Regions from separate parts of the Homo sapiens genome. Here all the other regions are linked to region 3. The links are contacts of gene promoters, found by promoter capture Hi-C in blood cells and fetal thymus (Javierre and others, 2016). All regions are on one chromosome and are shown on one strand. The core of a region is centred on a gene start or on the middle of the fragment in contact, and the rest is flanking DNA. Distances in the headings are between cores, read along the strand shown.

Region 1 (3,277 bases), core at 754-3,253, 350 kb before region 3:
CATCACACCCGGCCAAAGAGGTTGTGTTGTTTTCTTATCATTCATGTGTTCAGTGGAGTAGTACTTTTAATTTCCTTCATGAACTTTTCCTTTGCATTTACAACTTGGCTGGTTGACATAAGAGGCCTAGCTTTCAGCCTAGCTCGGCTTTCAACATGATTTCCTCAGTAAGCTTAAACATTTCTGGCTTTTGATTTCAAGTGAGAGCCCTGCGACCCTTCCCTTCACTTGAGCACTTTAGAGGCCATTGTAGGGTGATTAAATGGCCCAATTTCAATATTGTTGTGTCTCAGAGAATAGGGAGGCCTGAGGAAAGGGAGAGAGATGGGGGAATGGCCGTCTGTGGAACAGTCAGAACACACACATCATTTACCAATTTAGGTCACTTTCTTATGTGGGTGTGGCTCATGGTGTTCCGAAACAATTTTAAGAATAACATTAAATAGCACTGATCACAGATCACCATAACAGATGTAATAATAATGAAGTTTGAAATATTGTGAAAATTACCAAAATATGACACAGAGACATGAAGTAAGCACATGCTGTTGGAAAAATGGTGCTGACAGACTTATTCAGAGTTGCCACAAACCTTCCATTTGTTAAAAATAACTCCATAATATCTGCAGAGTGCAATAAAACAAGGTATGCCTTTGTATCTATTTCACAACAACCCAAAGCAGGAGGTAATTGTTAACCCCTTATTAACCCCATTTTACAGATAAAGATGAAAAGTTGAAAACATCACATGCTCGCTGGTAAAACAGTGGAAAAGCTGAGATTTGAACCCGGGTCTGAGGCGAAAGTCTGGGCTGTTTCCCAGAGCACCACATCACCTCCTTCCTGTCCACCCCACACCACCATTACCGCCCCACCACCATTATTACCACTCAGCTGCCCACTTTGTAACAAATCCTCTCTGTACAGCCCTCACGGTCCCGCAGGTGGTCTTAACCTCCCGCTGAATATCAGTCCTACCTCCACTCCCACCTTGGCAGACTTTTTTTTCGAGACAGGGTCTCGCTATCTCACCCAGGATGGAGTGCAGTGGTGCGATCTCGGCTCACTGCAGCCTCGACTTCCTGGGCTCATGTGATTCTCCCACCTCAGTCTCCCAAGTAGCTGGAACTACAGTCGTATGCCACCTCAGTCTCCCAAGTAGCCAGAACTACAGTCGTATCCCACCCCACCCAGCTAATTTTTTGTATTTGCAGTAGAGACGGGGTTTCGCCATGTTGCCCAGGCTGGTTTCCAACTCCTGAGCTCAAGTAATCCACCTGCCTCAGCGTCTCCAAGTGTTGAGATTATTGGTGTAAGCCCCGTGCCCAGCCACTGGTGGACTTCAAATCTTCAAAGGACCAGCAGATCTGGAGGGTGATGCAGCAATACCCCACAGGATCCCTAAGCAGGACTCCAGGTCTCTGCTGCATCCCTACTGGGTCCAGCCTTTGGCATGCTCAAGAATACTAATATCAGTTTGTCACAGCTAACCTGACGCTCACCTCATCAGGAAAATCCTTGGGGTGGGGAGAGGTAAAACGGATCCTCATTTCAGGATCTACTCTGGAGACCTGATCCAGAAGATGAGCAAAACGAAGTCCTCCTTGCTTGGTTTTATAGTTGGTGGTAAAGCCACGACTGAGATTGGTAGGCACTGCACTGTTGAACTGGACCTCCGAATTGTCCCGAAAACTATTAACATTCTGACCAAGAAGTGTCACTTCTTTCAGCCCCTAAACATGGGAAAATATATTGGAATTTTAAAACTTTTGGGTAGCTTCATAAAAAAACACTAATTAAAAATTAGCTGAAATTAACATATCTTTTGTTTTAAACAAAAGAAAAATCGAACCTACCAAGAGTCACCTATAAGTGTGTTGTGTCTATAACCGAATAATTTCAAGCTTAGACATCTTACCTAAAGAGCTAAACCTAATAAAGCCTTATATAAAAATTAATCTTCAAAACATTATTTAGAATCAAAACTGGAAACAAACTCAATAATCCACAATAATGGTTAATTTATGATAGATCTGTCATTTGAATGTTATACACCATGACTATATAAAGTATTCTCACCAGAAATATTTAACCTGAACTAATCAAGCTTTTACACCTAACTTCCAGTTACTAGAATTCACAGAGATATATTAAATGACAACATGAGGAAAAAATCAGACAAAGGAGACTCATGTCTGATCTCTTCAAAAAGTTAATGCATCATTTAAAGAAAACAACAACAACAAAAAATAAAAGAGCTGTTTTAGATTTTTTTCTTCTTCTTCTTGAGACAGGGTCTCCCTCTGTTGCCCAGGCTGGAGTGCAGCAGCACGATCATAGCTCACTGTAGCCTCAACCTCCCAGGCTTAAGCAGTCCTCCTGCCTCAGCCTCCCAAGTAGCTGGGACTACCTTTTTTTACTTTTGTAGAGATGGGATTTCACCATGTTGCACAGACTGGTTTTAAACTCCTAAACTCAAGCAATCCTCCCACCTCAGCCTCCCAAAGTGTCTGGCTTAAATAACTATTGATTTTCATACATATGATAATGATATCATGGTTATGAAGAGAAAAATTGTTACTCATAGAAGATACATACTGAAGTATCTAGGGGCAAGTGTCCTGAGGTCTACAAATTACTTCAAATGGTTCAGAAAAAATACATTTATGGGTGCATGGAGATAGGTGTATGACAAAATGTTAACAATCACGTTTTTCTATTATACTAGTCTTTCTATTTGTCTGTTTGAAAATTTATATTATAGGCCAGGTGCAGTGGCTCCCTCCTGAAATCCCAGTACTTTGGGAGGCCAAGGTGGGCGGATCACACGGTCAGGAGTTCAGACCAGCCTGGCTAACATGGTGAAATCCCTTCTCTACTAAAAATACAAAAAATTAGCTGGGCGTGGTGGCAGGCACCTAATCCCAGCTACTAAGGAGGGTGAGGCAGGAGAATCGCTTGAACCCAGGAGGCAGAGGCTGCAGTGAGCCGAGACCATGCCACTGCACTCCAGCCTGGGCAACAGAGCGAGACTCCATCTCAAAAAATAGAAATGTTATATTATAAAGTTTCACAAATAATGGTTGCTAAAAAAGACTTGTTTTGTAACTTTGACATAATTTACAGACAAACTGCAATATTAAAAGAATTCCCATATACTCTTTGCCCAAATTCATCAAATGTTAACACTGCACCCCATTTGTTTATCATTCACATTCAGACACTCATATACACTCTCTCTCAACACACATATGACTACATTTTTTTTAAGCCTTCT
Region 2 (3,352 bases), core at 404-2,903, 390 kb after region 3:
GTGTCAGGCCCTATAGATGTTACATGCATTATCTCATTTAATACTCAACAACAGCCTTGTCAGGTTAAAAGTATTATACCCATTTTATAAACAGGTTAATGAAGGCTCAGAGAGTGTCAGTCACTTACCCAACATAACCCAGTGAGTAACAGAGATGGAATTTGAGCCCAAGTCTGTGTGAATCTGAAGCCCATATTATTTCTACTATGTTACAGTGCCTCTGAAAATATATTTAACTGTGCCTACTTCTAATAGAGTTTATGATAAATGATATATATTTGATGTTTATATATTTATATCAATTATTTTACTTCATCATTACAAGTAAGATAGACTATCTAGGGATGATTATCACCACTTTACAGATGAGGAAACAGATGGTCAGAAAATTTAACTTACCTAGCTTCAGACCAGTAAATGATAATAACAGGGCTTGGACACATGTACCGCAACTCTCAGACTCCTACTTTTTCCACATTGGCCTATGAGAGTAGAATTTTATCTATATTTTACCTATGAATTTTCTTTTTTTTTTTTTTTTTTTTTTTGGAGACGGAGTCTTACTCTGTCGCCCAGGCTGGAGTGCAGTGGTGCAATCTTGACTCACTGCAACCTCTGTCCCCCAGCTTCAAGCGATTCTTCTGCCTCAGCCTCCCAAGTAGCTGGGAGGGATTACAGTCGCCTGCCACTGTGCCTGGCTAATTTTTGTATTTTTAGTAGAAATGGGGTTATATCATCTTGGCCAGGCTGATCTTGAACTCCTGACCTCATGATCTACTCGCCTTGGCCTCCCAAAGTGCTGGATTACAGGCGTGAGCCACCTCGCCCAGCCATATCTATGAATTTTCTGGTTCTAACTTTTTTTAATAGGAGCAAAGAGTGGACATCTTGACAGTCTTGCACTTCTGTTTATGCTTGGACAGATTAAACACATATGTTTATCCCTGTTCACTCCCCAAATCACTGAAGTGACAGTGAGTTAACATTTTTAGGTTTACCAGTCTACAGACAAAGAGAATAAGAAAGAAATCAATAGCAGATTAAGGATATCAACAAATTTTTGGAAGATGGAAAACCATAGCTGAGCTGAGAAAACAATTCTAAATGTTTGCTGAGGGTTATACTAACAAGGGACAAACAGATTCGTACTGCAGAACACTAGAATGTCAGGACTGGGACAGAGCAGATCAGAGGTGATGTGAGAGGCAGAAGAGAGAGGGTTTGGCTGAAAGCCTTTATAGGAAGTGAAACTGCCAGGTCTTTTTCTCCATCCTACTCACTTAGACAACTACCCTTTCATCTCCCTAGCAGCCCCTGGGACAAAATTGAGGTAGAGAAGTTCCAGACACTGAGATACCAGGCACAGCTAAAGATATAATAGCAGGGAGGCTAAGGTAGGAGGATTTCAGACTGAAAACAGAGATTAGATGAATTGTCTACATGCTGAATGGTGAAGCGCACTCAGTCCTCCTGCTGAAATTTATTCCAGGAATGCTGACAGCAAGGCTTGTATTCTCCAGGCAAGATATCAGGGAATTAATTTTAATTAATTAACCCCAGAGGAAAGATCTATACATACTGATATTTGAGGTCCCCCAACAAAACACCTAGGTACCCACTTTATCATCCTACAGATAAACTTCCTGTTAACACAGAGCTTCCAAATACTTAGTGACTCACTCTTAAATATGAAGAGACAACAAAGGGTCACCAGATATTTAAGATAAACCTCCACCAGGAAAGACAGCATCAAATAGAGAAAAAAGAAACTCAAAGGGAACAGAAACTGAAGAGAACAGAAAAATATTTTTAAAAAACAATAAGCAGTCTATGAGAGATAATAGAAAATACTGCATCCATAAAGCAAAGATAAAATGCTCTAAAAAAAATAGAGTAAGTAACAGCTCTGGGGAATTAAAAATATAATAGAAAAATTGGCTGGGCATTATGGCTCATGCCTGTAATCCCAGCACTTTGAGAAGCCAAGGTAGAAGGATTGTTTAAAGCCAGGAGTTCAAGACCAACCAGGGCAATATTAGATAGACCTCTTCTCTGCTAAACATTCTTTTAAAAAGAGAAATTAGGCTTGGTTCAGTGGCTCACGCCTGTAATCCCAGCACTTTGGGAGGCCGAGGCGGGCGGATCACGAGGTCAGGAGATCGAGACCATCCTGGCTAACATGGTGAAACCCCATCTGTACTAAAAATACAAAAAATTAGCCGGGCATGATGGCGAACACGTGTAGTCCCAGCTACTAGGGAGGCTGAGGCGGAAGAATGACATGAACCCAGGAGGCAGAGCTTGCAGTGAGCCGAGATCACACTACTGCACTCCAGCCTGGGCAACAGAGCGAGACTCCATCTCAAAAAAATAATAAATAAATAAATAAATAAATAAATAATAAAAAAAGAAAAAAAATTAGCCAGCTGTGGTGGCTCATGCATGTGGTCCCAGCTACTTAGGAGGCTGAGTCAGGAGGGCTGCTCAAGCCCAGGAGATGGAGGCTGCAGTGAGCTATGATCATGCCACTGCACTCCAGCCTGGGCAATACAGCAAGACCTGTTCTCAAATAATAATAATAGAAAAATAAATAATTTATATAAGTCTTAATATATAAAGTTGAGGAAATCTCTCAGAAAGTAGAACAGAAATACAAATGGAAAAATAAAAGAGAAAAGATAATTAGAGGATGAATCCATAAGGTCGACCATTAGATTAACAGGAGTTCTGGAAATACAGAAGAAATGGAAGAAAATTATCAAAGAAACTGAGTTTCCAGAGTGGCAGAGCCTGCTGAGTGCCCAGCATAATGAAAGAAAACAAAACAAAGGAAAAACATTATGGCACATCATCATGAAATTTTTTAACACAAAGGATAAAGAGAAAATCAAAAATCTTGGTGATAGGAGGTGAGGAGGGGGCAGGGAAAGGGCAACAGGTTACTTATGAAAGAGCAGGTAATAGGAATAGCATTTTTGTCCATAGTAACATTAGTGGCTAGAAGACGATATAGGGAGGCTTTCAAAATTCTGAGAGAAAATACGTTTTCAATCTAGAACTCCTATACTAAGCCATATTATCAGTCAAGTATGAGGAATAAATAAGTATATTTTTAGGCATGCAAGGATCAGAAATTTACCCCTCATCCCCACATAACTTTTCTTAGGAAAGCACTGGAGGATTTGCTCTAGTAAAACAAGAAAGACAGAAAAAAAATCCTAAAATTTGTATGGAACAAAAAGTCCAAATAGTCAAAGCAATCCTAAGCAAAAAGAACAAAGCTAGAGGCATCACACCACCTGAATTTAAAATATACTGCAAGGCTCTAATAACCAAAACAGCATGGTATTGA
Region 3 (3,554 bases), core at 329-2,828:
TGCCTCAGCCTCCTGAGTAGCTGGTACTCAAGTGCAAACCACCATGCCCAGCTACTTTTGTTGTTGTTGTTGAGACGGGGTCTCACTATGTTGCTCAGACAGGTCTCAAACTCCTGGATACAAATGATCCTCCAGCCTCAGCCTCCCAAAGTGCTGGGATTACAGGTGTGAACCACTGTGGCCGGCATACACATTGTAATTAAATAACCTTTAAGATTTAATGTCGGTCTTTTTTTTTTTTTTTGAGACAGAGTCTTGCTCTGTCGCTAGGCTGGAGTCTGTGGCACGATCTCGGCTCACTGCAACCTCTGACTCCCTGGTTCAAGCAATTCTCCTGCCTCAGCCTCCCAAGTAACTGGGATTACAGGCACGTGCCACCATGCCCAGATAATTTTTATATTTTTAGTAGAGACGGGGTTTCACTAGGTTGGCCAGGATGGTCTCGAACTCCTGACCTCGTGATCCGCCTGCCTCGGCCTCCCAAAGTGCTGGGATTACAGGCATGAGCCGCCGCGCCTGGCCTAATGTCGGTCTTTCTTCCCACCTCTAACTCCATGGGAAAGGACCACCATGTCTCTAGAGCTATTACGGGACTTGGTGCATAGCAGGCCGTTAATAAGCAGTTGATGGAGGATGAATGAAGATGAGAGGGGTCTGTGTGTGTAGGGGAAGTCCCAGTGAGGAGCACCTCTCATTCTGTGAGACCTGGATAGGACCCCTCGGAGGCTGGGCTAGGAGTGGCTGGGGTGGGTGTTGGGGGTTTATGTGACAGAAATGGGGTCCCAACAAGCAGGGATGGAGGGTGAAGAGATGGAGTTACTTAAGAGATAATGGGATCCCCAGCACGGAGACCCACGCCTGTAATCCCAGTGCTTTGGGAGGCCGAGACGTGAGGATCGCTGGAGGCCAGAAGTTGACACCAGCCTGGACAAAATAGTGAGACCCTGATCTCTACAAAAAAATAAAAATAAAAATTAGTAGGACATGGTGGCGTGTGCCGGTAGTCCCCGCTACTCTGGAGGCTGAGGCGGGCTCCCAACAGGCAGAGTTGAGCAGGGTAGTAGGGGCGGGAAGTCTCTAATAGGGGATGAGGGATGGGAATCTATGTTGTACAGCCTGGAGATCCCTGTGACAGTTGGGTGGTCTGGGTGAGATGGGATAGGGGTCATGGTTTGTTGCAGAGTCGGGGTATACTGTGCTCAGCGGAAATGGGGTCCGTGCAGCAGACCTGGAGGACTCACGTGCTGTGGGAATGGGGGATTCTGTGTCAGAGCTGGGGGGTCGGGTCCGGTGAGATGGGGATGCGGATTTAGATAATAGGGATGGGAAGTTCCGCGTGTGCGGCGGATATAAGGTCGGTGTAGACTTGGTCGTTCAAGTGAGGCGGGGTCCACACTCGGTGGCCCGGTGACTGGGTTATCGAGTGGAGCCAGGGCAGCCCAGAGATGCTGGGGTCCCGCGAGCCTAGGTTGGGTTTCCAGGGCTGGGGGCTCGGCGGCGGCTCCTGGGCGCCCCCTGGCGGCCCCGACTCAACCGCCACGGCTCCCACAATGCTCGCGTAGCCGGGCTTCGGTTCCTGTGGCGGCGACGGCGGCGGCTCCAAGATGGCGCAGGCGATCTTTGAGGCCCTGGAGGGTGAGCGGCGGCGGGGCCGGCGGAGGCGGCTGTTCCGCGCTGCGCCCCCTCCCGCCGCGCCCTCGCAGCGCCCGGCCTAGGGCGCGCAGCGGCCGCGGGGCGGAGGGCGCCGGGGCTGGAACAGCCGCGGGGCGGGAGGGGCGCGGGCGGGAACAGCGCGGGAGCCGAGGCCCGGCGGGGGAGCTCCGGGGCCGGAACAGCCGGGGAGAGCCAGGCCGGCGGGGAGGGGGCTCGGGTCCGGAACAGCGCCAGCCTGGGCGGCCTTGGGCGGGCGCGGGAGGGGCTCCCTGCAGGGAACTGCGCGGGAGGCGACGGCGGGGCGGTCTGGAACAGCCGCGGCCAGGGAGGCGGCTTGGCGGCGCGCGGGGCCCGGGACGGGGGTGCGGTCGCAGCTGCGGGCAGGAGGGCCTCGGCGGCCTGACCACGAAGAACTTCTGCGGAGCGGACTGTATGCCTCGTGCTAGGACGTAGTCTCAAAATCAGACCACAGCAGCAGAGGCGCCACCTGTGTGCACAGCCTGGACTCAGAGCTTAGGGACCCAAGCCAGCAAACACCTGGCGCCTGCAGTGCGCACCGTGGCCGGTGCAGTTTTACAAATTAAACTGACACCGTGGGTGCTGGCGCGGTGTGCCCGGCCGGGACGCGGTGTTCCCAGACCCAGGCCAGCAAACGCTGGGTGCCGACAGACTGTTCCGTGCTCTGCAAGAACCTGGGATGGGGTTGGTGCTCAGGCTCAAAACTGTGGGCTTTGGAGACAGCAAACACTGAGCACCTCCATGTGTGCATCTGCTGGGCGTCGGGGAGGAAGGGCAGCCTTAGCGACTCGGGGCCATGGCGCAGAATAGATATTGTGGGAAATACAGACCAAGAATGGTCTTGGAGGAGTGGGATGAGATGAGTATACAGATAGGGTGCAAACTCGAAGTACTGGACTGGCGGGATGAAGCTGAAGCTTTGAGTCCTGCAGCTTCCTAGGAGATCTCAGCCACTCCCTGCACTTTTTAATTTTTTGAGACGGAGTCTCACTCTGTCGCCCAGGCTGGAGTGCAGTGGCGCGATCTCGGCTCACTGCAACCTCCCCCTCCCAGGTTTGAGCGATTCTCGTGCCTCCGCCTCCTGAGTAGCTGGGACTATAGGCGTGCACCACCACACCCGGCTAATTTCCTTTTTTTTTTTTTTTTTTGAGACAGAGTCTTGCTCTGTTGCCCAGGCTGGAGTGCAGTGGAGCGATCTCGGCTCACTGCAACCTCCGCTTCCCGGGGTTCACGCCATTCTTCTGCTTCTTCTGCCTCAGCCTCGAGAGCAGCTGAGACTACAGGCATCCGCCACCACGCCCGGCTAATTTTTTTTTTTTTTTGTATTTTAAGTAGAGACGGGGTTTCACCGTGTTAGCGAGCATGGACTCGATCTCGTGACCTCGTGATCCGCCCGCCTTGGCCTCCCAAAGTGCTGGGATTACAGGCGTGAGCCACCGCGCCCGGCCATTTTTTTGTATTTTTAATAGAGACGGAGTTTCACCATGTTGGCCAGATTGGTCTTGAACTCCTGGCCTCAAGTGATCTGCCCGCCTCAGCCTCCCAAAGTGCTGGGATTACAGGCGTGAGCGACTGCTCCAGGACTCCCTTCACTTCTTGAAGGATCACAATTCGCACCAGGAAATGGGGGGCGGGGTAGCCCTGTCTCCATCTAGTGGGGTTCCGATTCAAAGACTGACTGAGACAGACACTCCCTGTAGTTTCTGCCCTGCAGTCTGGTAGAGGAGAGAAATTATAAAACAAGCAATTATAGAAATTATAGAATTATGGAAAAGGTCATGTAGAATAAGATGACCTCAGCTGGCCATTCCTACTGTGAATAACATAAGCAGGAGGTGGTGGATCAGGAAGGCCGAGGTCAGTGGTAGTTCCCTCCCAGAGGC

The links. The method cuts DNA at HindIII sites, captures the fragments that hold promoters and counts their contacts. A CHiCAGO score of 5 or more calls a contact.
Region 1: a contact is called between a fragment that was not itself captured here and the fragment with the promoter of ZNF341 in region 3, in 1 of 17 cell types (megakaryocytes). The highest score is 5.5, in megakaryocytes.
Region 2: a contact is called between a fragment that was not itself captured here and the fragment with the promoter of ZNF341 in region 3, in 4 of 17 cell types (endothelial precursors, M2 macrophages, neutrophils and 1 more). The highest score is 8.9, in endothelial precursors.

The regions. Positions count from the first base shown.
Region 1 is chr20:33,377,959-33,381,235 of GRCh38, forward strand. It overlaps CDK5RAP1 (CDK5RAP1 mitochondrial tRNA methylthiotransferase), which reads right to left. Exons shown (of 14, transcript NM_016408.4): 8 at 1,503-1,733. Among named protein-coding and RNA genes, the nearest start is that of CDK5RAP1, 22 kb to the right of the region's middle. The HindIII fragment of the contact is 203 bases long and covers 1,903-2,105 here.
Region 2 is chr20:34,123,401-34,126,752 of GRCh38, forward strand. No RefSeq gene overlaps it. Among named protein-coding and RNA genes, the nearest start is that of EIF2S2, 13 kb to the left of the region's middle. RefSeq lists a silencer at 1,294-1,363. The HindIII fragment of the contact is 6,261 bases long and covers 1-3,352 here.
Region 3 is chr20:33,730,418-33,733,971 of GRCh38, forward strand. ZNF341 (zinc finger protein 341) reads left to right here and starts at 1,579. Exons shown (of 15, transcript NM_001282933.2): 1 at 1,579-1,635. The coding sequence starts at 1,605. It overlaps LOC124904890 (a long non-coding RNA gene), which reads right to left and starts at 1,566. Exons shown (of 2, transcript XR_007067569.1): 1 at 1,229-1,566. RefSeq lists enhancers at 1,150-1,209, 1,220-1,279, 2,948-3,554 and a silencer at 1,390-2,099. The HindIII fragment of the contact is 12,577 bases long and covers 1-2,586 here.